7 separate regions of the Homo sapiens genome follow, and regions 2, 3, 4, 5, 6 and 7 are each linked to region 1. Evidence: promoter capture Hi-C in 16 types of primary human blood cells and fetal thymus (Javierre and others, 2016). All regions are on one chromosome and are shown on one strand. Each heading gives the region's core, a stretch centred on a gene start or on the middle of the fragment in contact. The rest is flanking DNA. Distances are from core to core; before and after follow the strand shown.

Region 1 (3,810 bases), core at 749-3,248:
CTTAAACAAGATATCTAATTCACAAGAAAGCTTCATTATCACTTATATTCTCCTAGGTAGTATGAAGTCTCTAATAGGTGTTTTATCCTTCCATGCATTAAATATTTTGAGCCGGTTGCAGAAGGAGGGTCAGTTTTCCACCTGAAGTTTTGCTTCTAAGTTTAGACTTGGGTCTTTATCATTATGGAACATCACTGCTTCCTGTTAGATTAATCATATTTTGACATAATATTACTTTCCAGTCACAAGTTTCTTCAAAGACTCAGACAACCAGATGAAGAAGGAACTCCTTTGAATTTCGTACTGGCTTTGAATTTCTATCTACTCTTTTAAAAATGTATAACTAGCTTATAAATATTTTATACACTCTGCAACTTTTTACCTTACAGTCTACAGTATTGCTGTAACTCTTATTTTATAAAGTGATGAAGTATTTTGGACTAAATAGTAGTGTCAGTCTTAAATGAAAGGAAATATTTGTCAAGGTTTTTTGTTTATTTGTCTTCAGATAGAAAAAAATGACACATATGTTAAATTCATGATTTTGCTATTTCACATCTATGTTTTACAATTTGTGTGAGCTTTCTCAGTGATTCTGAGGGACTGAGGGACTGGTCTACATTAAAGATTGATAAAAAATGGAAAGATTATCTCATTTGTTTCATATTAAATAGTGACCAAAAGTGTGTTTTGATAAAGGAAGCAAGTAAGCATACACATTTGTTTGAATGGATCACTAATTTAGGATATTACAAATTGATGAGCCCTATTATCCTATTTGTAATTAATTTAAAAGGTTTTCACCAATTATACTAATTATAATTCTTCATGCTAAAACTTTTCATTATAGCCTAGGCTTTAGTGGTTCATTCTGACAATGAAATGAAAGCACATTATAATTTTATTTCTTACACAGTTTCACAAGTGTTTTTAGTGAGATTGCAACTTACTTTAAAAACAACTACATCTCTTGTCTTTTTAGACCTTCTTTAAAGTAAGATAACGTAATGATATTTTTGCAGTTTTAGGAATTTGAGAAAAAACTCATCAGTCCTACTCCCCAAAAGTCTGCTAAGTGATCTGTGCGCTTAAAGCAGATATTTTCTGTTTGTTTTCTATCTTTAATTTACCATAAGGAAATTTCAAGATATTTTTGCTTTATAATTCAGAAATACTTATTTCTAGCCCATCACATTTAAGAATCAATAATAACGCATGTCAGATTCTTTATAATAAATGGCTATATCACATAATTTGAATAACAAATGGGAAAATAAAACTTAGAGAGTGTAACTGGATTGTCTGTAACTCAAAGGCTGAATGCTTGATGGGATGGATATCCCATTCCCCTTTATGTCCTTAATTCACATTGCCTGCTTGTATGAAGACATCTCATGTATCCCATAAGTATATATACCTACTATGTACCCACATAAATTTTTAATATTTTAATTAAAAAAATTATTAAATTGCACTTTAACACTTTCTAACTTATGTGTGAAAAGTTTTCTTCAAATCCTTTTAAACTTAAAATATCACCCTGTCCTTGTGTTTAACATTGAAGATTCCCATTCTAAACTTTGCTATGCAGCTTTTCTTATTAATTCACTATGTTTGTATTCATGATAACTAAAACATCGTTTACATCTGAACTTTTACAGTCTGTCAGATAAAGTGTTTTTACATGTAACTCAACATGCTCCTGGGAGTTAAGATTTTAAAATCACAATGTTCAAAAGTGACAAATGACAGCTTTTAAAGTACCAATCTAACTGGTTGTAACACATCCACAATTGTATATTTTTAGTCTTAATATAAGAAAAAGTTATTAGTTGGTTATATTTACTCTTACCTTTAGAGGCCATGAAGATGTCTGAGTCACTTCTTCAAAGGTTGCCAGGTTGGAAAACAAAGGCTTTTCTTGTTGCAGCAAGGAGAGAAAACGCAGCATGCACAAAACTTCAGAACGTGTTTGTCTGCCTCTTGTCAGCTTACATATAACAGAGGAAGGGAGTCCCTTGCTGTTTCTAGACTTCTGGACTTTATCAGTTTGGACAACAGAGTGAGATGAAACTGTCACAAAAGTAAACGCTGTTCAGAAACCATCATATAACTTTGGTGGCTGAAGGAACAATTTAAAAATAATAAAAACCAGAAAGGAAAGCACACAGCACTCATTTTAAGTGTCTTTTTTTTTTTTACCAAGTTGTTTTTGTATTTCTTAGAATATACACATTTGCATTCAGTCTTATATCAGAAATATCCTGTATTTCTCAATTTCTAGAAGTCTCCTTTCCAGATTCTGTGATAAAACATCCTATTGTATAAATTTTTGATAGTTCTAAATACAATTCTTTACATGTTGAAAATGTTTGAACATTATTATTGTTATTTTTCTATTGGATTTATCTCCATCTCTTCAACTCAAAATAAATAAGAAGAGGATATATTCCCTACTATTATATAAATAAATCTTTATTTTCATTTTTAATTGAATTTGATTAATCAGAGGCATTGGAATATACAAACCTTCAATAGCCTTGCAAAGCTAATCAAAATTTACAGATGATATTTAACTGCATTGAATTCTAAGGAAAGAAAACAAGTGCTGTAACCTTGACTGGACAGCTCCTATTTCTAAATGCAGCTACCCAGGTGACCATGGAGATTTTGCTCACCAAGTCAATTGCCCTACATGGTATGATTCACAAAGGTTGAACATGCAGGATATATTGCATTATCAGCAACACTGTCTTTTTCTGAAAATAGTTAAGAGGCTTCAGGAGGTATACCTTGTGATGAAAAATTATAAAGTCAACCTCACAGTTTGCAGACTGCCAAAAGTTTGAGTTTTCCTTATTTGACAAAGAGGAGTGGTTTTGTTGTTGTAGTTTTCTTAGTGTTTGGAGTTGAAAAAAGCTACCATTATTTAAGTTGTCGTTTTGCAGAAAAGATGTGTGAATATGATTAATATTTTTAAATTAAACTGTATGTTTCCTAAGTTTTTTCTAATGTTTGTCGTGAGCATTTAGAAAAACTTTAATACAAAAAATTAAGTTATTAACACTATCAAAGAAGATTAAAAAAATTTTTTTTATTATACTCTAAGTTCTACGGTACATGTGCACAACGTGCAGGTTTGTTACATATGTATACATCTGCCATGTTGGTGTGCTGCACCCATTAACTCATCATTTACATTAGGTACATCTCCTAATGCTATCCCTCCCCTCTCCCCCCACCCCACAACAGGCCCCGGTGTGTGATGTTCCCCTTCCTGTGTCCATGTGTTCTCACTGTTCAATTCCCACCTGTGAGTGAGAACATGCGATGTTTGGTTTTCGGTCCTTGCGATAGTTTGCTGAGAATGATGGTTTCCAGCTTCATCCATATCCCTACAAAGGACATGTACTCATCATTTTTTATGGCTGCATAGTATTCCATGGTGCATATGTGCCACATTTTCTTAATCCAGTCTATCATTGTTGGACATTTGGGTTGGTTCCAAGTCTTTGTATTGTGAGTAGTGCGCAATAAACATACGTGTGCATGTGTCTTTGCTCAGCAAAAGGAACTACCATCAGAGTGAACAGGCAACCTACAGGATGGGAGAAAATTTTTGCAATCTACTCATCTGACAAAGGGCTAATGTCCAGAATCTACAAAGAACTCAAACAAATTTACAAGAAAAAAACAAGCAACCCCATCAAAAAGTGGGTGAAGGATATGAACAGACACTTCTCAAAAGAAGACATTTACGCAGCCAACAGACACATGAAAAAATGCTCATCATCACTGGTCATCAGAGAA
Region 2 (3,810 bases), core at 406-2,905, 500 kb before region 1:
CTACTCAACAAAGATTTCACAATGGACCTTAACAGGAGCATTTCTTACTGTGATGGGAAGAGGTGGAGTAGTGACAGCGAGTTATCTATATTTTAAGAAACTTTGGCTGTGAAGGGGAGGAGAAAAGCCAGGTGCAGCCTGGAAGGCAGTGTGGATTGAAGAGGATGTTCTACCTTGTGTTGGCTTGGTTTGGTTTCATTTGTAAGATGGAGGAGACTTACTGGTCTTTAAAATGCTAATGAGGAGATGACAGAGCTGGGGAAACTGATTATAAGATAGAGACTGAAGGAGGGCACAAGATAGAGATTGCTTTGTAGGAAGGCTGGAATGGGATGAAAACCAAAGGGGAAAGATTAACTAGAAGAGACGGGAATCTACTTCTTTCAGTTTGATGGAGCAGAAGTTGCCAGCATGCGTTTTCCTTGCATTTCTTTCCATTCACATAGCTTTTCCTGGAATTCAGATCACTCACTCCTCTGGAACAGAAGCCCACATCCCCCAGTATTTTCTTCCCACAACAAAAATCTGTTAATCCCTTTTCTAGGTACTTAAACCAGGCATTTCAGCATGTCAGAAGGTTGTTGTAAGCACAGTATTACTATATTTTTTCAATGCAATTTATGTTCCAGCTTGATTGGACCCAAGCAAAACAAACTTTTCATCTATAAATTTTGCAGTCAATAACATTTTTAGCAAGCTCAATTATACACATTTGAAACAGAAAGGCATCCAAAATTTTATTGGTCAAATTATGTCACTTTCATTAACTGTAGTTAATGAAATAAGAGAAAGAGGAAGCTTTCTGGCCATATTGTAATACCCCAATCTTAACAGTGTTGTTAACTTAGAAAACGGCAAGTCAGGTGAAACAAATGATCTCTTAATGTCCTGAGCAATTCCTAATGAGAAAGGATACCCAGTATGAGAGAAATGTGGCTCACTCCCAAGTTAGTTGTTATTATTTAATAAAACGCCAAATGTGCTGTAAATAGAATAAAAGGCTATCACTCTGCTGAGGAAAAATCAGTTTGATTAATTAATTAGTATAAAACCAGATGATATACTGTGTAAAAGATGAAGTCTTTATTTTAGCACCAAAATAAAGTCTTTGAAAGAAATTTTTAAAAATAAAATAGATGACATTCCACATATCAATCCATAGTCTATCTCCAAGAATTGGCCAAATAAAAGTAACTGTTACTTACCTTGGTGGGTCCATTTCCATTAATTGCCACTGGTAATGTTTCATAAAATGTATTCTTAGCTCTGGCTTTGCCATTTTCAAATTTTAAAACAACTTCATCTGGGTTAAAAAGAGAAAATAGGCTTTAGTAATTTAAAATACGTGTGTGTGTGTCTGTATTCGTGTGTCTGTGTGTGTATGTGTGTGTATCATCATTACAAAATTTCTCATGGATGTAATATTCCAAGTGCTACAACACTTCTAGTAACTTCATCTACTCCAAGCCAGCAGATACCCAAAATGAAGGATGACAGTGACAACAGATACAGATACCAAACTCACTCCAACCTGGCACCAGTAAAGTGATTGAGGTGCTAAGCCAGTGAGCTGTCTGTCAGAATAATTCATCTTGCAATCCTGCCTTTGCCCCTTCATAGTATTGTTATTCTTGCCAAGTTAAATTAGTAACTCAGTTTAGTCATCTATCAAATGGTATCCACGTCTGTCTTTTAGGGTTATTATGAAGATAATAACAATATATGCATGGTGAGTAGAATATTGTCTGGCATAAGCAAGGGTTCTACAATTGGCTACCAATGATAATATTTCCAGTTCTTAAAAATCAGACTTAGCACATTAAGCAAGATAAAACTCAAGTCAGAGAGGAGCAGAGCCATCGTCTTAAAATTTCCTGAGCACTCCAAACTAAACATTTTGCATTGTGGGAATTTTTTTTTTTTTTTTAGAGACTGGGTCTCACTTTCTGGCCCCGGCTGGAGTGCAAGGACACAATCACAGGTCATTGCAGCCTCGAACTCCTGGGATCAATCAATCCTCAGCCTCTCATATAGCTGGGACTATAGGCACGCACCACCATGCCTGACTAGATTTTAAGAATCTTTTTACTAAATGGACTGACTTGAAGTATTGATTGAATTGCAATATATTCTCAATTTTTATATGTATATTTAAAAGTATTTATGTGTTAATAAATTATATTTTAAATTTTACTGTATTGATTAGTTTTAATGTATTTTATCAAGATATATGTATCTATAATACACAGGCACATATGCATATCCACACGAGCATGTACACACACACACACACACACACACACACACACACACACACACTCTTCCCCAGTCTACTGTCTAGTTGTCACCAGTTATCTTTCAGCTGGGTCAAAAGGATCTACTCTAATACTCTGGGTAATTCGTAATACAAAGAATTTCACTAGAAAATGTGTAATAATAAAGTGTAATTAATTTATAAACTTATCTAAAATTCCCAAATGGTGAGACACTAAATTTTAAGTTACCTAAAGCCAGAAGCTTATCTTTTTCACACTAGTCATAGGAAATGATTTTAATTTAATGTACTGATGTTAAGTTCAAGTCTAGTATTTTTGTTAAGTTACAATAATTACAATATTTACACTGTCGACCTTAGTCACAGCCCCCAAATGGACATAACAAAGGAAAGATAGTTGAAAACACAGGTGTTTGTTTGTATACGTAAGCAATCCGGTATTTAGGAAGCATACCTACAGCTCCATTTAAGGTCTGGAAAATTTTGCATTTGTGATCCAATGTGATGTTAATAGCTTCCTAAAACATAAGAATAGAAATGATATTGAAAATGACAACAAAAACAGCAAACATTCCTATCATATTAATATAGTTTGTTCTTTGAGGGAATTTAAAGTTTAATATTCTTATATCTTAAGTGTCTAATCAAAATATTTAGATGACTAAAGTATTTAGCTAAAAGGTAGAAACTGCGATAGTTGCAACTCATTGCAAAATACACTTAAAGAAAATCTTGTTTCCTAATGACAGCAACTACAAACACACAAGTAACTTTTATATCTGTATCCAATATATACAGTAAATTTATTAAATATCAACTTATATTGGTAAATATGATAAAAGTATTCTCAAATTAGAAAATCTTGCTTTACTGTACTCCAGAGTTTCACTCACATCAATTTCAGGAATATTCTCTCTAGGGTCTATGGAAGACTGCTTATTGTACCCAACATTCCCTCAACTCCCCAATAAGGGAACTCAGATTTCAGGAGCATATATCTGCTTAAAATAAAAAAACAGATTTTCCTTTGGGTATTATGAGTGGGCACATACATACGTTCTGATCAAAGTATGAGAAACTATTTGGTAAGACTTCTAGAAAGGCAACTTAAAGAGAGTGATGAAACTGAGATGGCCTGTTTTTACTACCGTGCCTCTCTTAGCTGCCCAGAATACGAATGCAACGACTGAAACTCAAGTAGCAATTTTGGACAAGGAAGTAAGATTAAAACTGGGAGCTATGGACCAATGGTGGAGCAACAAAAGAGCTATCCCTCTTGACAGCATAAAGCCTCCCTAACAGCCTTGTGCTCCCTACTTCTTAATTACTTTCAATGTGACAGAAGGAAAAAACTTAAATAAAACATATTTCTTATTTAGACCACTGCTATTTTGAGTTGCTTTATTTATTACAGTTTAAGTGTTCTTATGAATAAAAGACAAAAGCCTGTGTCTATAGCACAGTCCCGTGGATCCTCAGGCTCTAACCTCTTAGGGATTTCATTATCATCTCTTTGAATCTTCAGGCTCCAAATT
Region 3 (3,810 bases), core at 622-3,121, 480 kb before region 1:
GGATAAAATAAAATTTAATAATAAATACCACTAGTTCTAACTTTACTTAATACTGAGCCGGAGATAAATCTTGCTGGCAAAGCCTGTGGGGCTCCCAGCCTCAAATGTCCTGTTATAACTTATCACTTCCTATGTGGCAGGTTGAGGGAAAAACACAACCCAAGAAAACTCAAGCTGTTTTGGATCTGGATTCAAACTAGGCTAATCTAGAAGCATTAATAGTACTTGCTCTAAAAATTGGCCTCCTCTGGCCCTGAGATTTGTTCCACAACCCATCTGGAATCCCTAATCCTAATGCAACATTGGACCCAACGACATCTGAGAGTCTACTCTGTGCAATACACCATGTTAAGCACCACCCTCTATGTTCTTTCCACTACACTAGTGGTTGTCAAATTTCAGTGTGCATCTGAATCTCATGGAAGCCTTGTTCAAACACAGACTTCAGGGTATCACTCCCAGGATTTGTAATTCAGTCGGTCTGAGGGGGAGCCTGATTATTTTTTCTTTCTTATCAGTAGCCAGGCAATGCAGATGTTGGTGGTCTGGGGTCCACACTTTGGGAACCACTGCATTACATGAGGAGAGAGCAAAAGGATCATAAACTCCAGTAAGTTAAGTGGGGATGGGGTCCAAGATCTGATATTATACTTTATATAGTTATTTGCCTTGGGACAAGTTTTCCTCATCCAGAAATAAAGTAGTATCTACCTTACATGGTTCATATAGTGACTTAACAGCATATCATATATAAAGTTCCTTACAAGGTGCCTTGCACATAAGAAACATTCTACTCTCTCTCCATTCTGAACCCTAACGATTCCCCAACTAGATTTCAGCATTATTTTATCCTAATTTTATTTCCACAGTGTCTCCTATCAGTGCATACTGCTACATTTTCCATCTATCATAGTAACATATTTCTAACATGTTTTTCATTTATCCTATATTAAACATCTAGTTGTTACCACTACATCTCTTTTTCAGCAAAGTTTAGCTGTTTATTAGCTGTTCTATATTAACACTTAGCTGTTCTATATTTACATCTATACTTAGTATTCCAGTGGTTATTTAATAAAAACTACCTTTTTAATATACTACATACTCAAATGGATCAGTTTTTCTCCAAAAAGTAATCTTTCTTCTTTTTTAAAAAAAAAGTTTTTTGCTTTTTGTGTTCCTACCTAGGTATCTCCTTGTTCTCCTCTTATTTGTAGAAAAGACTTGGCTGACAGATCCTTCTTTCTATTAAAAAAAACAAGTAAGTAAATAAAATGGCAGGCCTCTCATAGCTGAGTTTAATAGTTCTATCAATTTCCCCAAGTTTCCTCTGATCACTTGTCAATGAGATGTTCACCTGGAGATAAGTTTTCTAAAATGCTTTGGTTAAAAATACATTAACAATCCTCCCAAATACCTCTAAATGAAAACAAACAAACAAACAAAAAAAGCAAAAACAAAAGCAATTCTCAATAATAGACAGAAAAGGCACCCTCTTCACATTTGTTTCTAATTCCCTGCAAACAAAGAATCATCCTACGATAGCAAAACCCATTACAGAAAAAATTATGCAGTCAGTGAAAAAAATCCCTGCCAAATCTTATTTACATTGTATTTGTACATGACCTGCCAGAAAGAAATTATATATATATATGCAAATACATATTAACTTTTTTTTGCTGTTTTATAGAGTATATTTATACAAAGCATTGGCAAAAATTCAGAAATTATTGTTTGAGTGGCACAGCATTATTTTATCTTAATTATTACAGGTGCATAATAGTTGCATATTTATGGGGTACATGTGATATTTTGATACAGGCATATAATGTGTAATGATCAAATCAGAATACTTTGGCTATCCCCTCACCTCAAGCATTTACCACCATTTCTTTGTGTTAGGAAATATTAATAAAGCCAAAAACTACATGAACTAACAGTAATTATGTAACCAAATGCTATCTTCCTTGTGAGGATTACAGATTGTACTGCTGTTATGAAAAACATACTTTAGGCACACATTATAGGATCTTCATAGGTTAAAGGATATACCATACCTTCACAGTATAATTGAAATATTTGGCTGACTGCATAAATCGATGGAATCCATCACTTTCTTTTGTTGCTACAGTTATGACTAATAATTTATCTGCAAAGACAAAAGGAAACAAAAGAAGGTTTACCAAGATATCAAATGCTCACATTTTACAACTCACTACAGTAATTGAGACCTCACTAAACCCGTGGGAATATTCTGGTTTACTTATCTACACAAGACTAAACAAAGAGCTGTCGAAAAAATAGATGACTCAAATTGGTTGTATTACTGCCAAATGATGAACCTTCAAATGACAATTATTTCAACGCAAAAAAGTATATTGATGATTAAGAAAAATCATGCCATCAATAAAGTATTTCAATATTGAGAAAAACTTCCATAAAATGAACTTTATAATCCATGATTAAGATTCTCTGACATTATCTAATCAACAAACTTCAACATCATCGATAAATCATTCCTGATTTATGACATCACCAGTGAGGAGATCAGCAAATTACATTCATCAAAATAATGACATACACAAAAAAAACAGATACAATCATTAAATCTGATTCTAATTTTCTAAAATAAATTGTGACAACTGGGAGCAAATATTTAAAACAAAATCTTAATTTTTTTCTCCTATCCGGGATTGCTTTTTCATGAAAATTCTTACAAGCGACAACATTATTTATTGTGTTTTGGTTTCTCTTTAAAGAATAAATGGAATCAAAATAACCACTGCCCTAGTAAATATACAACTATTAGCTACCATTTTATAATGAAATATTACTTTCAATCCAACATAACACTTCTTTTTAGTAAAATTAGATAGATTTAAGGAATTGTCTCAAAACACCTACATAAGCTACTACAGATAATGATTATTTTTAATAGGAAAAGGCATGTTGGAAAAATGCACAAAAGAAACAAGTGCATCAACAAATGCCAAAAGGGCTGGAACATTTTTTTTTAACTGAAGATTTAGAAGGACCTACACACTAAGAAAGCAAAACTAACATCTTTTCAATATTCTCTGAGTAACATCATTTGTTTCTCACTTGCCCTCTATTTATAAGAAAAGAATTCAGGTTTTGAGTATCCCCTAAGCAACAATCACCAAACATGGCAATAATGCATTATAGGAATCAGTTAAAAATTATAGCAGATGAACCAATGTATCTATCTGTCAAATTTTGAAAGTAACTACAATAAAATATAAGTAAGTACAATATACAAAGAAATACTAAATTCAAACATTCAATAGTCAACCAAAAAAAATAATTTCCATGAAGATAAACATCAACATTCTTAGATTTTTTTCTAAGAAAAAGGTATTTCTTGGCCAGGCACGGTAGGTCATGCCTGTAATCTCAGCACTTTGGGAGGCCGAGGTGAGCATATCACTTGAGAGCAGCAGTTTGAGACCAGCCTGGTCAACATGGTGAAACCTCATCTCTACTGAAAATACAAAAATTAGTCGGGTATGGTGGCACACACTTGTAATCCCAGCTACTTAAGAGGCTGAGATAGGAGAATCGCTTGAACTCGGGGGGCGGAGATGGTAGTGAGCCAAGATCACACGGCTGCACTCCAGCCTAGGTGATGAGGCCCTAGTAAATGTATTTTAAGAATACTTTTTAAAATTAACTATTTAAAAAAGTTTTCATTTATAAAGTTTCAAACAGAGCTTAACTGATTATGAAAATTTAACATTATTCAGAGTAAATTTCAAAATAGGGAATACCACATTTTATTTTATAAGAACA
Region 4 (3,810 bases), core at 583-3,082, 460 kb before region 1:
AAGATGAGTCTGTTACATAAATAAAATTTTAAGAAATGTTTAAAGTATCTTCTGTGACTTTCTAAACAATAAGAATTCTAAATGCCACATTCCCTATCCTGAAGGAACACAAATCTCCACAATTTATCTTGATAAATGCTCACCCCGGTAGCGTTATAAACGCCAACTATCAAACAACCTAAATGTTGGATTAAGGGTTTTATTATGATGCAGGAAAAAGATAATAATGCAGCTCATCCTAAAGTGTAAAGCTTTTCTGCACATCCAATATTTTACTGAGATTTCCACTGGACTTAAGCAGAAATGAATATTCAGAGGATTTTCTCTCTTTTTCAAACCAGTTTGTAAAATAAAATCAAGCCAACAGTTACACATTCCTGTACAAATGCCATCACTTTAAGTCATTAGCAAGAAATTTATTACAAGGCTTAGAATATACACATTGAAACAGCACTAGGGAAGAAATATCAGCTGCTGGCAAAAAATACTGTTGAAGAATGTCACTGTGGAAAAGCTGGTCTTTCCCTGCCTTCCTCCCTTTCTCTTTCCTCACCTCGTATACAGTCAAATTCAACTAATTCCTAGCTACAACACATTAGAAATGAATGGTTCGCCACCTGGTTCTTCAAGACTGCTCCACAAAAACATAGCAAGGCATTAATTAGTCATAAGCAAGATGCATATTTAAGGTAGATGTTCATAAAATAGCTCTCTTTTGAACGCAATTTAAATTTTCTCAGCAGTATAAATCCATACAGGGTCAGGATACTCCAGTATGACCCAGTGCACTGGGTCAGGTTATGTCTGAAAGAGTCAATGTTTCATTTGGGGAATTTATGTAGCAGGAAATAAGAATCCCTTGTTAGAAAGCTGAGCCAATGCTATATGGGGTCAGTTCTTATGACAATTCATCAAAAGTCCAGCCTCTCAAGATGCCTCTACATTACAGAGACAAACACAGAGACATTCCCATTTCTGAAAGGATTCATGACATTCCTCATCAGAAAACTGCTCCCCAGTGAAGTCTGATTTCACTGTGACCTAGAAACGAGGGTAAGCATTCAGTGTTTTGTCAGCTTCAACGACCTCTCCCCAACAATCCTCACTCATTCTTAATTCCAGAATTTCTCAAAGTAGAAGGAACTCAGTAATTTCATAAACTAGTATATAATTAGAAGTATATACAGCTCAGAGAGTCTGAATTAAACTATACTATGTGTGCTTTTTCAGAAATACACAATACGCTTTAATAAAGAATAGGATCAGTTCCTGAAAATTCACAAACTACTCTCTGCATTTTTAGTCATAAAGCATTCCAGTCAATTAAACCATGGTGCCTTTCAACTTTCTCTAAACACTTTCTATTAATAATGTTAATAATGCAAATCATTCTGTCAAATGTGATAATTAAGCAAAGAATACCAAACAAATATAACCTCTTCTTGAGGACTCATGATCACTTACCATATTTTCCAATGATAGGGTACTTCCCCAGAACATCTAAATCTACAGAGCTGTTTATTCCTATAATAAGTGGCCCCAGACAGAATGTTTTCCACATGCTGCTTCTGATCTTTAATTTCCTGGTCTCCATTTTAATGTCTGAGTGTCCATGTACCTGCTCTGTCAAGAACACAACATGTTTCTTCATTTACTGCCCCCTAATAAGTTTTATTATGAGGTTTTATTAAGTTTTATTATGTACTCTCAGTACATAAACTAGATAAATAATAAATCAGATAATTGAATACACAGTATGAACAAATGAGTTATCTAATGGCTTTCCTACCTTTAATTATAAGTAACATAAATAGCTGGATGTTTAGATTAATTACAACCCCAAAAAAGGACAAAGTTAACTACATTACAATTTAAATTGCTGTATTCTATTAATGTGGACCGCTAATAAAATGATCACTACTGCATTAACTCTTCTGTGATTTATCTTGCAGTTTACTTAAACTGCATACATTCCCCAGACGCAGTTTACAAAATGGATCTAACACTAAGGAAGTTCTCGTTTTTATTGAAAGAAAAGTTAGAACAGGGACAGTTGGAAATTTCAGATTGAGATGGGGAAAGAAATCCCCAACCTCAGGAGAAGTTCATGTTCCTCAACTACAGATTTAACCCCTGACTCCACACCACATTTGAGCCCTGCAAATACTCCTCAAAGGGCTTTCATCTTTATTCTTTCAACAGATACTGACATTCACTGTTTATCAGGCACTGTGCTACATGTTGGAGACATAATGGTAAACGAAGTAAATGCTGGAATTGAAGAGAATGTAAACCTAATAGATCCCCAAATCCTAGTTGATACACAGTAGGCACTCAATAAATATTTTTGGAAGGAAGTCACTCAATAAACATTTTTGGAAAAATCAATCCCTGTCTTCATGGGTCTTACAATACAGTTGTGAGGGGAGACAGTGGCAAATAATTCCACAAACAATTTAAAATGGAAACTGCAGTAAAACTAAGAATAAGTTCAACAACACGAAGAGGATGAAAGGTTTTAACAGAGAAAGTTATTTTAAATTGGAAGTTTATGAAAAAAATTGTGAGGAATTCGCCCTAAAACTGAGGACAAATGAGTTCACCAGGTGAAGAAATGTGTGTAACAGGGGAATGGGATTCAACATTCTCCACTTCTGTTCCCAGAGAGTTAGAAAATTGGCAAAAACATCATTTACTGTATCTAACCATACATCTACTGTATGTAACCAAATGTTCCTGTCAGAAAACAATTGCCAAATTATAACTTTCAAAAAGATGAGAAAAGTATTTATCCCTTGAAAGTATCTCTAAATAAACTACAAGTAAAGCTATTATCTACTGATATTTAATGTCCTTTATTAAAAGGAACTAGTTTTTTTATTCAGATTTTTGTCATCAAGAAAAATAATGCCTAAATTAATACGAATGCAGTGTTTTCTTTTTTAATAGAAATTTATGTAATCCAACAAGTTTTAAGTTAGCAAAACAAATCAGTGCAAAATTCACCATCCAGCTGTATGAATCTACCCCTCCTGGTGCTTCTCTCTACTGTTTTTTCCATCTCTCTGCCTATTCATTCTCAGTCTGTCACTTTTTCTTCCTTTACCTATTTCCAAAAACTAAGGGTGGTACATAGAAAAGTTATCAGGGATCTTTTTCCAGCTACATGGTAGATGTACTTTCATGTAAAGGTTGGTCAATAAAAACACTACAAACCTGAAACCTTTCATATTACAAGATTAATTGCCCACTGACCTAAATGGAAAGTGGAGGCAGAGTAGGGTCTGTTCCAGGCACACAAATCTCCAGTTCTTGCCCTTAAACAAAGTTTAAGCACACAAATATCCCAGTGCTTGCCTTTAAACATAATTTAAGTACAATAAATAACAAACGATAAAAGCTACATTCAAAATAAAGCTTTGTAATATACTGCCTAAGATTATAAGAAAGGGGCATTGTCAGCACATTCCAATCTCTTGTCAAACCAAATACACTTGATGCCTTGGTACAAACCAAAGCTGACTCAGGGACTCTCTGCAGCAGCACTGATCTTACAGTCATGTAGCCAGATTTCCCCTGCCATTTGTTCCCATCTTCCATGCTTTGGTTATAACACAATTTCTGTAAACTGAAAAATCTGCTTCAAGCAGCTCTGCTATTTTTCAATGCTATCGGCTGACATTTTGCAGAATGCTTTTTCCCAAACTCACTGCTCAGTGCATCACAGCAGCTATTTTGGCCTACTTCCTAGAGTTAAACACTCCGACCGCCCTTGTAAAAATATTTTTAGGGTCCTGTTTTCCACCACTA
Region 5 (3,810 bases), core at 684-3,183, 420 kb before region 1:
ATCAAAAAATAAAAAACAGTAGATATTGGTGTGGAGACGGCGAACAGGGAACACGTTACTGCTGGTGGGAATGTAAACTAGTACAGCCACTGCGGAAAACAGTTTGGCAATTCCTTATAGAACTAAAAGTAGAACAAGTAATATTTCTGATGGTGTTACCTGCCAAGAAGAGAGAATGACGTGAGGGACTGGATGGGTCTGGGCATGTCTTCCTGAGGTGGTGACATGAAGAAAAGGGGTAAGCTACCTGAAGACGTAAGAATGATCTAGGACCCTTCTGGGAAACAAAGCTTTGTGAGTAAATGGAAAGCCACTGGTGGTTTTCAGAATGGAGTAATTTAATTTGGTAAAGATGGGTTTAACATAAGTGAGTGAATATGGTGAGTGTTTCAACTGAAGCATAGAGTTTATGACACGAATTCTGTTTTGTAGTTTGCAGAATAGGGGGTCATTTCTAAAAGATGAGTTCCAAAACTGTGTTAACAAAAGAGACCTTAGGAAATTATGCTCACCAGGCTCTCACCACAACTAAAGTCCTGACAAAGAATATTTTGTTACACACACACATGAGGGCAGATAGGTTTGCAAACAATTCAGTGTGTTTAAAACCCAAACAAATGAGTTATCTGTAGCTAGATAACTTGGCTACTCACATTGCTTTTCTTTTCTTTCTTGGAGGGTTAAATATGATGTTTGATTTTTTAAAAAATTCCTCATGAAAACTTTAATGGCATATAGAGTCTAGAGTTTGTCCAAATGATCACATTCAAACAGAGGGGCCCAAGGTAAGGCAGTCACCTGAACTCTAAAAACAGAAATGGGTCATGATTCACTAGGGGAAGTCTTGCTAACATGGACATACGGAAACATAGAATCCATACACATTTTTTTCACCATTTCGTTTACCACTCAGACTTTGGGTTTCTTCCCGTAAGTTTGTCTGTGACTCAGTTTTAGTTTCAGATGACTTAATGCTTCCATCTAATCAAGGGAAGCGAACATGATTATTTAACATATCCATGATCCCCAGTTACGATGCCAGGAGCCTCTAAGAGGGCTAATCTTGTGGCCTGGCATTTTTCATTTTTTCTTTTTACTTAAAAAAAAAAAAAATCATTGCTTACATGTGGCCTGCTAACCAAACATTTCTTTTATCCCTTGAGGATATTTCTGGGTCCATTTGCCTTGATAGCTCATAAAAGCCTATCCAAGAGCCTAAGTTACCTTGTATAGAGCAAAACTAGACCAGTTCCTACACTTCCTTCTTTGCTTTTACTTAGTAAAAATGCTAATGTTTCCAAGGGCCAGCCTTATCCACATACATTATCTCATTTTAGTTCTCACAATCACACTGTTATCAAAACAATTCAGGCATTATGGCTTTAATTTACAGATGCAAAAGTGGAAGAGCACAGAGCTTCGTGTCCTGCCTAAGGTTATTAGTAAGGCTGGCTGCTACACTCAAGCCAATGTCTGGGCCCCACAAAATTTAGTACAGTTTAATACATCACAATGTTTCTGTAGAACACATCCCAAACTTTATATATTATTTCCTACCCCAAGATGAGTATTAGACACTTATAACTTAAGTGTTTGACGTGCTCTTATTGTATATTTGTTATCTATCATCACAGTTTGTGTGGTTGATAGAGAATTCCAGAAAATGAAGTGTAACAGTTGTTAGAGATAATAGTCCTTCCTTCTCTCTCTAGACCATTATGGAAAGAGACTCTGTGGTTTATATTTGAAAATGGCACTGAAAACAGCAGTTAGGAGATAAATTTATTTTATTTTATTATTATTATACTTTAAGTTTAAGGGTACATGTGCACAATGTGCAGGTTTGTTACATATGTATACATGTGCCATGTTGGTGTGCTGCACCCATTAACTCATCATTTAGCATTAGGCATATCTCCTAATGCTATCCCTCCCCCCTCCCCCGACCCCACAACAGTCCCCAGAGTGTGATGTTCCCCTTCCTGTGTCCATGTGTTCTCATTATTCAATTCCCACCTATGACTGAGAACATGTGGTGTTTGGTTTTTTGTCCTTGCGATAGTTTGCTGAGAATGATGATTTCCAGTTTCATCCATGTCCCTACAAAGGACATGAAGTCATCTTTTTTATGGCTGCATAGTATTCCATGGTATATATGTGCCACATTTTCTTAATGCAGTCTATCGTTGGACATTTGGGTTGGTTCTAAGTCTTTGCTATTGTGAATAGTGCCGCAATAAACATACCTGTGCATGTGTCTTTATAGCAGCATGATTTATAGTCCTTTGGGTATATACCCAGTAATGGGATGGCTGGGTCAAATGGTATTTCTAGTTCTGGATCCCTGAGGAATCGCCACACTGACTTCCACAATGGTTGAACTAGTTTACAGTCCCACCAACAGTGTAAAAGTGTTCCTATTTCTCCACATCCTCTCCAGCACCTATTGTTTCCTGACTTTTTAATCATCGCCATTCTAACTGCTGTGAGATGGTATCTCATTGTGCTTTTGATTTGCATTTCTCTGATGGCCAGTGATGATGAGCATTTTTTCCTGTGTCTTTTGGCTGCATAAATGTCTTCTTTTGAGAAGTGTCTGTTCATATCCTTTGCCCACTTTTTGATGGGGTTGTTTGTTTTTTTTCTTGTAAATTTGTTTGAGTTCATTGCAGATTCTGGATATTAGCCCTTTGTCAGATGAGTAGGTTGCGAACATTTTCTCCCATTTTGTAGGTTGCCTGTTCACTCTGATGGTAGTTTCTTTTGCTGTGCAGAAGCTCTTACCTAGGAATCCAACTTACAAGGGATGTGAAGGACCTCTTCAAAGAGAACTACAAACCACTGCTCAAGGAAATAAAAGAGGATACAAACAAATGGAAGAACATTCCATGCTCATGGGTAGGAAGAATCAACATCGTGAAAATGGCCATACTGCCCAAGGTAATTTGTAGATTCAATGCCATCCCCATCAAGCTACCAATGACTTTCTTCAAAGAATTGGAAAAAACGACTTTAAAGTTCATATGGAACCAAAACAGAGCCCGCATCACCAAGTCAATCCTAAGCCAAAAGAACAAAGCCGGAGGCATCACGCTACCTGACTTCAAACTATACTACAAGGCTACAGTAACCAAAACCGCATGGTACTGGTACCAAAACAGAGATATAGATCAATGGAACAGAACAGAGCCCTCAGAAATAATGCCACGTATCTACGACCATCTGATCTTTGACAAACCTGAAAACCACAAGAAATGGGGAAAGGATTCCCTATTTAATAAATGGTGCTGAGAAAACTGGCTAGCCATATGTAGAAAGCTGAAACTGGATCCCTTCCTTACTCCTTATACAAAAATTAATTCAAGATGGATTAAAGACTCACATGTTAGACCTAAAACCATAAAAACCCTAGAAGAAAACCTAGGCAATACCATTCAGGACATAGGCATGAGCAAGGACTTCATGTCTAAAACACCAAAAGCAATGGCAACAAAAGCCAAAATTGACAAATGGGATCTAATTAAACTAAAGAGCTTCTGCATAGGAGATAAATTTACTTGAATTTCACTATCCTCTAAAGCTTACATTTCCACATCAATAAAAGTGGTATGATACATGGAAAAGGGGTCACAATAGTTCTGCAAACCTATACCAGCTAGTCTATATGTGCATTTTCTTGCTTTGCAACCTTTTTGAGTGGTTCAGGAAAAAAATATTAGCAAAAACTGTAATAGGTTGAATTGATCAAAAGGAGGAAGGTGTGAGGGTAGGGATGGAAGTAATAAAAGTGGAGTTTGGGAGTTGCCTACT
Region 6 (3,810 bases), core at 613-3,112, 360 kb before region 1:
ATCTTAAAATATTACAAAAAAATTAAAATAATACAGCTTGTTCTCCGACCATAATGTAATGAGCTAGGAATTACTAACCGCAAGATAACAGGAAATTCTCTAACCACATAAAAATAAAACAACACATTTCTACGTAATCTAAATCATAACCTGATAAATTAAATTGGGCCTAAAGCTGCCTCTGTAAATAGCAGACTGCAACTTGATTTGAGGTTGTATTCTTGTAACAAGTAGCTGAGTCTCAGCCAATGATGGTAGTGGAGCTTCAGCCAATCACGGGCTGTCAACTGATCAGACCATGTCCGTTGAAGGCAAATGCCTCATCACACCATGACCAAATAAAGCAAATACCAGGCTGGATCCAATCAACTGATTTATGTACGTCACTTCTTTCCTCTGTTTATGAATACTGCCTGCCCATGTTGCTCGGTGGAGCTCTCTGAAACTCTTCTGGTTCTGAGGGCTGCCTGATTCATGAATCGTTTTTCGCTCAGATAAACTCTGCTGAATTTGCCTAAAGTTTTTCTTTTAAGAGTTTCACATGAGAAGTCAGATCTTGAAGCAAACTTCCAGTGATCCCAGGAGCACTGAGTGACCAAGTTAAGGTACCCAGCATGCCCAGTGTACTCACTGCTCTTTCGCAGCAACTGGGGTCATGGGTGAGATTTTTGAATCTAAGCTTCATGAACTTCTGATTTGAGCTGAGTTTGAGCATTTTTGATCTACACTGGGTTTCAAAGTCATGCCAACAACAGGACTGGGCCCAGTAGGGAGGCCTCAGGTATTTGACTGGGTCAGACATAAACTCAACTCAGTTAGTAGGTAGGAAAGGTTAATAAAAGACATAGAATCATGGGTTTATCTGGTCAAAGGTTGCTAGAGCTTCGCCCTCTGGAATTCTAGCCAACTTCATGTATAAAAACCAGAGACCCAGAACCTGTGCTTTTCGAGACGAATGGGAGAACCTTAGCAAAAGTAACTTAGAATGGCTACAGTGGGAAAATTCCTTACGAAAGGCAAACAGGTTTATGTCTTTACAGTTGTAAAGGCTACAGGGCCCAAGAGGATCCCAAAATAAAGAACCCTATGCCCCAAGATGTCTGCCTTTATGGTAAACACTCATGCAACTGGAAAATACATTGTCCACTTTTATATTAGCCATCTAATGGATCCACTACCTTTTGTCTGAACTATTTCTCCACCAGAGAAAGCCCCCAAAGGCTTTAATCCCAAAACAGTAACCCATCAATCTCTCAGGGAGGAAAAACAAATTCTGTGGTGGGGGTTTCAAATCAAACCTGGAAAGTTCCTAATTGACACTTGGACCATTTTCAGAAAAAAAATTTGTAAGAATTAGTTCTGTTATCTGTATTTCATCCTGCTTCTTCCATGGGGATCTCTCAATTGACTGAAACCCCTCTTCTCAAACTCCTGCTAACAATATGCTCTACCAACTGTATACATCTTTTTTTTTATTATACTTTAAGTTTTAGGGTACATGTGCACAACATGCAGGTTTGTTACATATATACATCTCTTTCTTATCATCATGATCCTGACTATGCTCCAAAACTCTTGAAAAACAAAAAAATAGAAAGCAAAACAAAAACTGTGTTGTCATTTATTCTTGAAAACAAAGAAATGAACAAAAAGGATGAACCAATCTCTAACTTTAAGAAAAGATTATAATATTCATGCAGAGTTCGGGCACATAAAATGCTGTATAGACTAAGCAACCCTAATCCAAAAGTCCAAAATCTGAAATGCTCAAAAATCCAAAACTTTCAGCACCAACATGATGTCACAAGTGAAAGATGATGAGGACACTGTTAAAACTGCAAAGTGCCTATAGATGACATGGTGAAAATATGTGATGGGTTTACTGAAGGACTCTAAGAGCATTCATTCATCACAGAATAAGAAATTGTGTCAGTCTGTAAAATCAACAGAGACTTCTAAGACAAAAACCATTGTTAATGAGACAGCGGACTCCAGAGGAAACATTCTGAAAAGTCATCCATCAGAATGCTTCCTCATTTGTAGAGAAAACACTTGCTGGTCACTTGGCTACTTCTGATATTTCTTCTCACTTAAAATAATAAAATTCAGTGAATGATAACCTTGTAATCAAAATACAGCATTGTAGGTAAAGAATGAAAGCCTGCCATTGCTTATTGGTGGCTTTCCGACACAGGCATTCTGGAGATACTACTGTGCTGCTTAGTTACCCTGAACGCATTCTCTTTTCACTGTACTAATGATACATCCTATTTTTTACTGTTAAGCACTTATTTGTGAGTAATGTAAGAAAATGATTACTTATCAGTAGCATAATGAATTTAGAGTCAGGAATGATGGTGACGTCAAATAACCACAGATTGTCCACATGGGTGATTGAGATACTGATACCTTTGCTTTCTGATGGTTCAACGTACGTAAACGTTTCATACACAACATTATCAAAAATATTGTATAAAATTATCTTCAGGCTATATGTTTAAAACATAATGGAACATGAATTTCATGTTTACTTGGGTCCCATTCTCAAGATACCTCATTATGTACATGCATGCCTTGTTTTACTGTGCTTTGCTATACTGTGATTCACAGATACTCCATTTTTTTAAACAAATTGAGGGTTTGTGGCATCCTTGTATCAAGGAGTCTATCAGTGCCATTTTGCAGAACAGCAACTTCTCAGTTTGTCTCTTTGTCAAATTTTGGTAATTCTCACAATATTTCAGACTTTTTCATAACAATCTGTTATGGTGATCTATGATCAGTGATCTTTGATGTTACTATTATAATTGTTTTGGGACCCCATGAACCATGCCTATATAAGATGGTGAACTTAGTAAGTGTTGTTGTGACTGCTCCACAGAGCAACTATTCTCCCATCTCTCCCCTTATTCTAGGACCTCCCTATTCCCTGAGACAAAACAATATTGAAATTAGGCCAATTAATAAGCCTACAAATGCCTCTAAATATTCAAGTGAAAAGAAGGTTCGTGCATCTCTCACTTTAAGTCAAAAAGCTGGAAAAGATTAAGCTTAATGAGGAAGGCATGCTGAAAGCAAAGACAGGCCAAAAGCTAGGCCTAGATTCCTCTGATGAATCTAGGCAACGTAAATTGAAAACTTTCTAAAAAGGATTCACCATTTTAGATACCACTAAGAACTTTTGTTATTCATGGGAGGAAGTCAAAATATAAATATTAACAGGAGCTTGGAAGAAGTTGATTCCAACCCTCCTGGATGATTTTGCGTGGTTCAAGACTTCATTGGATGAAGTACCTGCAGATGTGAGAGAATAGCAAGAGAACTAAGAGTTAGAAGTGAAGCATGAAGATGTTACCGAATTGTTGCAGTCTCATGATAAAGCTTAAAAGGATCATTGCTTCTATGGATAAGGAAAGAAAATGGAAGCCATTTCCCAGATGATTTTAATATATCCCCTCCTGGCCCCAACACACACCCCCTCAGTTACAGATCTATGAAATTTTACCCCATTCAGATAAAAACCTATCTGCTGTAGGAATCATAATACATTCAATCAAATGTTCAGTTTACCAATATAAGACATATCTATTTTTTCTCAAATCTCATTTGTAAACCCAAGTAAATTTCCTCTATACCAAATTCAAAATAAATCCAAAATATGCCATATAATATTTTTAAGTGATACATTCTCATTTTCACAGAAGGAATGCAAAACGAAAATAGTAGTGATTGTAAACTACATAAATATCAAGCACAATTGTTAAGTAAACACATTATCATGAAACATTATGATAAAATAATTTTCCTTTA
Region 7 (3,810 bases), core at 414-2,913, 340 kb before region 1:
AATGTCTAAAACTATTTTAAATTTAGAGTATTTATACTTTACTAATGGCTAGGCCATGTGATCATTACGTATTTATATATTTTTACAAAATCCTAAAATGGTTAATGCAGTTCAACAAAAATTTGAGGAACTAGAAAATTTTTGAGGCTGGCATTCCCAAAAGCAAAAATGAGAAAAAGGAAATATTTCTTGAAGTCAGGCAAGTAATTTAACTATATATCGATGAAAAGAGTATTTTAAATTCAAATTTTGTACACGGCAGCCTCGTATGTCACAATCTGCATAATTATTATAACATCAGGGCATTTAATTCAATAGTGTGAATGTTTAAGTTGTGATTAAAGACACACAAGTTTGCCATTGTCCTTAAATGTCGATAAATAACAAATTCTTTTTGTATAGTGTCTATATGCAAAGTGAATTATTTGCTGATTTAAAGAATTTTGGCTGAATCAGATCTACTGACATTTTATGTATATATTTAGGAATGTGAGTTATTCAAGTATGTGTCAGTGATTTAAAATAATGAATGTTAAAAAATTTACTAAAGTCTTAAACATGTAATGAAAAGAGTCTATTTTTTCTACAAAATTGCTCAAGACTTCTGAAATACAAAGCTGATAATGTCACTTCCAGGTTAAAGTCTTTCATTTTTCAGGGAAGATTTTTCATTTTAAAGCCTACAGTTTTCAAGAAAACTCTTAATATGTATTGTAGAACATACAGCCCTAATTTTCTTGCATTTGCTTAATTTTTTTTTTTTGCTTCACCATGTAGCACTTCCCTGTTTTCCATGTTCTAGTGATATGCTAGATACTATATCTATCTATCTATATACATATATCTGTATCTGTATCTATATAAATTCACCATTGTATTATGTTGGTTCATGACACTGTGAGGTTTATGACTTCATAAATATTTTGCCACTGCTTTATCCTCATTTCTCCATCTGGCTACATTCCATTCATTCTCCCAGACTCATTTTAAATATCACCCACTTTGGGAATCCTTCCATGACCTCTCCATTCTGATTTACTGAGTACTTTGAGCTGGTTCTATACTAGGTGCTGGAGATTCAGTAGAAAATAAGACAGGGTTTCTGCCCTCCTAGAACTTACATTCTTGTCAGATCAGAGCCAATAAACAACGAAGTGGATTGCAAAATAATTTTAGAGCATGAAAAGTAGTTTGGAAGTAATAAAGCAAGGTGATATGGAAGATGGTGAGGTGGGACTACATTACAAATAGTATTCAGGAAAGGCATCTTGGTCACTGGAGAAAGTAACATTCATGCCAAATGATTAGAAAAAAACAACTAGGCAAACATATGGTGTTTACTAGTATTCCAGAAATAGAGAACAACTAGCATAGAGATCCTGAGGGAGGAATATTGTATGCTGACAGAACAAAACAATACAAAACAAAACAAAAATAGGTGGTGCCGGAGCAGGAGAGAGAGTGGCATGAGAATAATATGTAGTTCATGAATTCATTTTATTTTTATTTCAACTCCTTTTATATGTTTCTCCATGCAACTCCTTGCCTAGCCCTTCCTAATTCTGTTGTATTTACCCATAAAACTAATTGCTGGCATAGGAATTCCCAAAGTGATATTACTCTCTGCAAATTACTTTTGTAATTGTGGCCTGTATATTTAAATTTAAACTGGGTCTGGATATATAATGATTTATATTCAATATATATTTCAACTAGATATTTTCTGAAATGTTATTATTACACATAATAAGGCCATGATACAATTATAAGAGATGCAAATAATTTCAGCTGCATCCACAGGGTGTTTTGCAAGGAGGAACAATCTAGAACTAGAAACCTAACAAATTTGAATAAGGTTTGAAACTAAATTTATACAGAGAAGAATATCAGCCAGTTTTCATAATTTGGAAAGCTAGTAAATTCTAGCTTTGGAGCTTAACATGATGAGGGGGTTGAAACACACATAAAAACAGCATTATGTTATTTCATTCAACAGATATTTTTAAAGTACTTATCTACCCTGAGCTATCTGTTTGGATTCCTTGGGAATAAAAATAAGGAACAAATAGTGAAATAAAGCATCCATTTGAAAGCACAAAACAACCCCAAAAACATGTTATTTACTTGCATCTGTAAAACGCAAAAGGAATAACATAAACTGACTCAGAAGCCTGTGGTCTCTGTCTTATATCTGTGAAGCCATGTGTAAAAGAAACTCTGGGGTGGGTACAGGTGACAGACATTCTCCTCATGACCTTAATGATGTAATTACTGCCTACCTATCACAGGATGCTATTCACACTCATTAGCAGTCCCAGTATCTTATCTCTTCCATATTAATACTTTTTCACCTACCTATTAGGATGCAGAAATTGAAAAAATACTTTATAACTAGAAACAAAGAAATCCTTGACCTGTGAAAGGAAAACTAAAAAAGAGTTGTAATTACTGTTACCTGTCATTTCTCAGTAATACCTTAATCTTGCTACACTTTGGGTAGAGAAGGAAAGAGGAAGGGCAAGGAATGGAGGGTCAGAGTGAGACAGGGTAGCCTGAAGAATGTTTAAGTTTTTCCAGCTGTATATAGTTGTTAAGTGTCTACAGGGCTATGTTTACATAGAAATGTAATTATAGAACACAATTTTAGGAAAGCAAGTCTCATTGATGAGACTTAAGTTAGTGCATGGATGTATTAATTGGACTTTGTGAGAAAGACTTTGGAGGGAATAAAATATGATTTTACAGTGGAGCTGAGATAAGAAATGTATATTAATAGAAAGAATTGAGATATTCTAATGCATGAGAAGTAAAACAATGCCACAAAAGCAGAAACACAACAGTTTAATAAAAGTAGATCCAAAATTGCTCATGCTACTCAGCTCAGTTAGAATGGACTTCATCTGTCAGATGCATCAAAAGATAAAAACAAGGGCAGCAGGTTTAATGGAAAGAATAACAAATTGTGCACCAGAAAGTCTGTACTGATTTTTTTCATTAACTTGGAAGAAGTTCGAGAAAAGCCAAGCATAGTGCCTGAGACATAACTAGCCCTAAATTATTTGCAGAATTAAGGAATGAATCCAAGTAAAGAAGTAAGGAGGAGCAGCCATAGCTAAAATGGGACCTCTTGTTTGTGTAGAGTTTGCTATGAAATAAGCAACCAGGTTACATTAATTTCAACTATATAAAGTATTCGAACTAAAAAGAACAGTAAGTGAATGGTACTACCTAAATTTTTTCTTAAATTTATTTCTTAAATTTTATGTACTGTCTTGATAATATTTTTTAAAATTACAGTTATTACAAGTTTAAAAACAAACAAGCAAAAAAGGAATACAGAGATTCAAGTTTCTGTTTGAACCAAGACAAGCCATTGAATCTTCATTCTTATCTACTGTTGGCATAATAATGCCAACTGTAATGCTTCAAAGAATCTTTTTGATGATCAAAAGAGATAAGACTGAGTTCCATGAGAGTAGCAGTCTTTACTTCCGAATCCTCAAGGATTATTACAGTCCTGGCACAGTAGGTGATTAATAAGTACTTACTGTACATTGAGCAATTGAATACTTATTCAAATGAAGCTTTCTTAATAACTTTGTAAACAATACTTTTTTCTTTGATCTTTCTAGTTTGCCAGTTTGATTAATGATTTGTTTTACTTTTTCATACCTGGCCATCATTTCTGAACTGATAGAAACAACAGTTTCTGCAAATTTTCACAAAACATTTCTCCCAATAGGAAAGCACATTAAAACATTCTTTGCTCTAAACTTTGAATACATTCTTCTTCTAGGCTATTTGTAAACA

Evidence for each region. The method cuts DNA at HindIII sites, captures the fragments that hold promoters and counts their contacts. A CHiCAGO score of 5 or more calls a contact.
Region 2: a contact is called between a fragment that was not itself captured here and the fragment with the promoter of PLSCR5 in region 1, in 2 of 17 cell types (naive B cells and M2 macrophages). The highest score is 6.4, in naive B cells.
Region 3: a fragment that was not itself captured here is called in contact with the fragment with the promoter of PLSCR5 in region 1 in 1 of 17 cell types (monocytes); the score reaches 6.1 in monocytes.
Region 4: a fragment that was not itself captured here is called in contact with the fragment with the promoter of PLSCR5 in region 1 in 6 of 17 cell types (monocytes, total CD4 T cells, activated CD4 T cells and 3 more); the score reaches 8.3 in monocytes.
Region 5: a contact is called between a fragment that was not itself captured here and the fragment with the promoter of PLSCR5 in region 1, in 4 of 17 cell types (monocytes, naive CD8 T cells, total CD4 T cells and 1 more). The highest score is 8.2, in monocytes.
Region 6: a contact is called between a fragment that was not itself captured here and the fragment with the promoter of PLSCR5 in region 1, in 12 of 17 cell types (monocytes, total B cells, naive CD4 T cells and 9 more). The highest score is 9.0, in monocytes.
Region 7: a fragment that was not itself captured here is called in contact with the fragment with the promoter of PLSCR5 in region 1 in 9 of 17 cell types (naive CD4 T cells, monocytes, neutrophils and 6 more); the score reaches 7.5 in naive CD4 T cells.

Annotation. Positions count from the first base shown.
Region 1 is chr3:146,603,348-146,607,157 of GRCh38, forward strand. It overlaps PLSCR5 (phospholipid scramblase family member 5), which reads right to left and starts at 1,999. Exons shown (of 8, transcript NM_001085420.2): 1 at 1,853-1,999. The coding sequence starts at 1,865. The HindIII fragment of the contact is 8,012 bases long and covers 29-3,810 here.
Region 2 is chr3:146,101,550-146,105,359 of GRCh38, forward strand. It overlaps PLOD2 (procollagen-lysine,2-oxoglutarate 5-dioxygenase 2), which reads right to left. Exons shown (of 20, transcript NM_182943.3): 6 at 2,730-2,793; 7 at 1,206-1,303. Among named protein-coding and RNA genes, the nearest start is that of LNCSRLR, 34 kb to the left of the region's middle. The HindIII fragment of the contact is 1,719 bases long and covers 797-2,515 here.
Region 3 is chr3:146,122,081-146,125,890 of GRCh38, forward strand. PLOD2 (procollagen-lysine,2-oxoglutarate 5-dioxygenase 2) reads right to left here. Exons shown (of 20, transcript NM_182943.3): 2 at 2,058-2,149. Among named protein-coding and RNA genes, the nearest start is that of PLOD2, 37 kb to the right of the region's middle. The HindIII fragment of the contact is 4,362 bases long and covers 1-3,810 here.
Region 4 is chr3:146,139,355-146,143,164 of GRCh38, forward strand. The region is part of intron 1 of PLOD2 (procollagen-lysine,2-oxoglutarate 5-dioxygenase 2); the gene reads right to left. Among named protein-coding and RNA genes, the nearest start is that of PLOD2, 20 kb to the right of the region's middle. The HindIII fragment of the contact is 3,166 bases long and covers 250-3,415 here.
Region 5 is chr3:146,180,381-146,184,190 of GRCh38, forward strand. The region is part of intron 1 of LOC105374145 (a long non-coding RNA gene); the gene reads right to left. Among named protein-coding and RNA genes, the nearest start is that of PLOD2, 21 kb to the left of the region's middle. The HindIII fragment of the contact is 3,290 bases long and covers 289-3,578 here.
Region 6 is chr3:146,241,774-146,245,583 of GRCh38, forward strand. The region is part of intron 1 of PLSCR4 (phospholipid scramblase 4); the gene reads right to left. Among named protein-coding and RNA genes, the nearest start is that of PLSCR4, 7.4 kb to the right of the region's middle. The HindIII fragment of the contact is 2,371 bases long and covers 678-3,048 here.
Region 7 is chr3:146,261,588-146,265,397 of GRCh38, forward strand. No RefSeq gene overlaps it. Among named protein-coding and RNA genes, the nearest start is that of PLSCR4, 12 kb to the left of the region's middle. The HindIII fragment of the contact is 3,837 bases long and covers 1-3,582 here.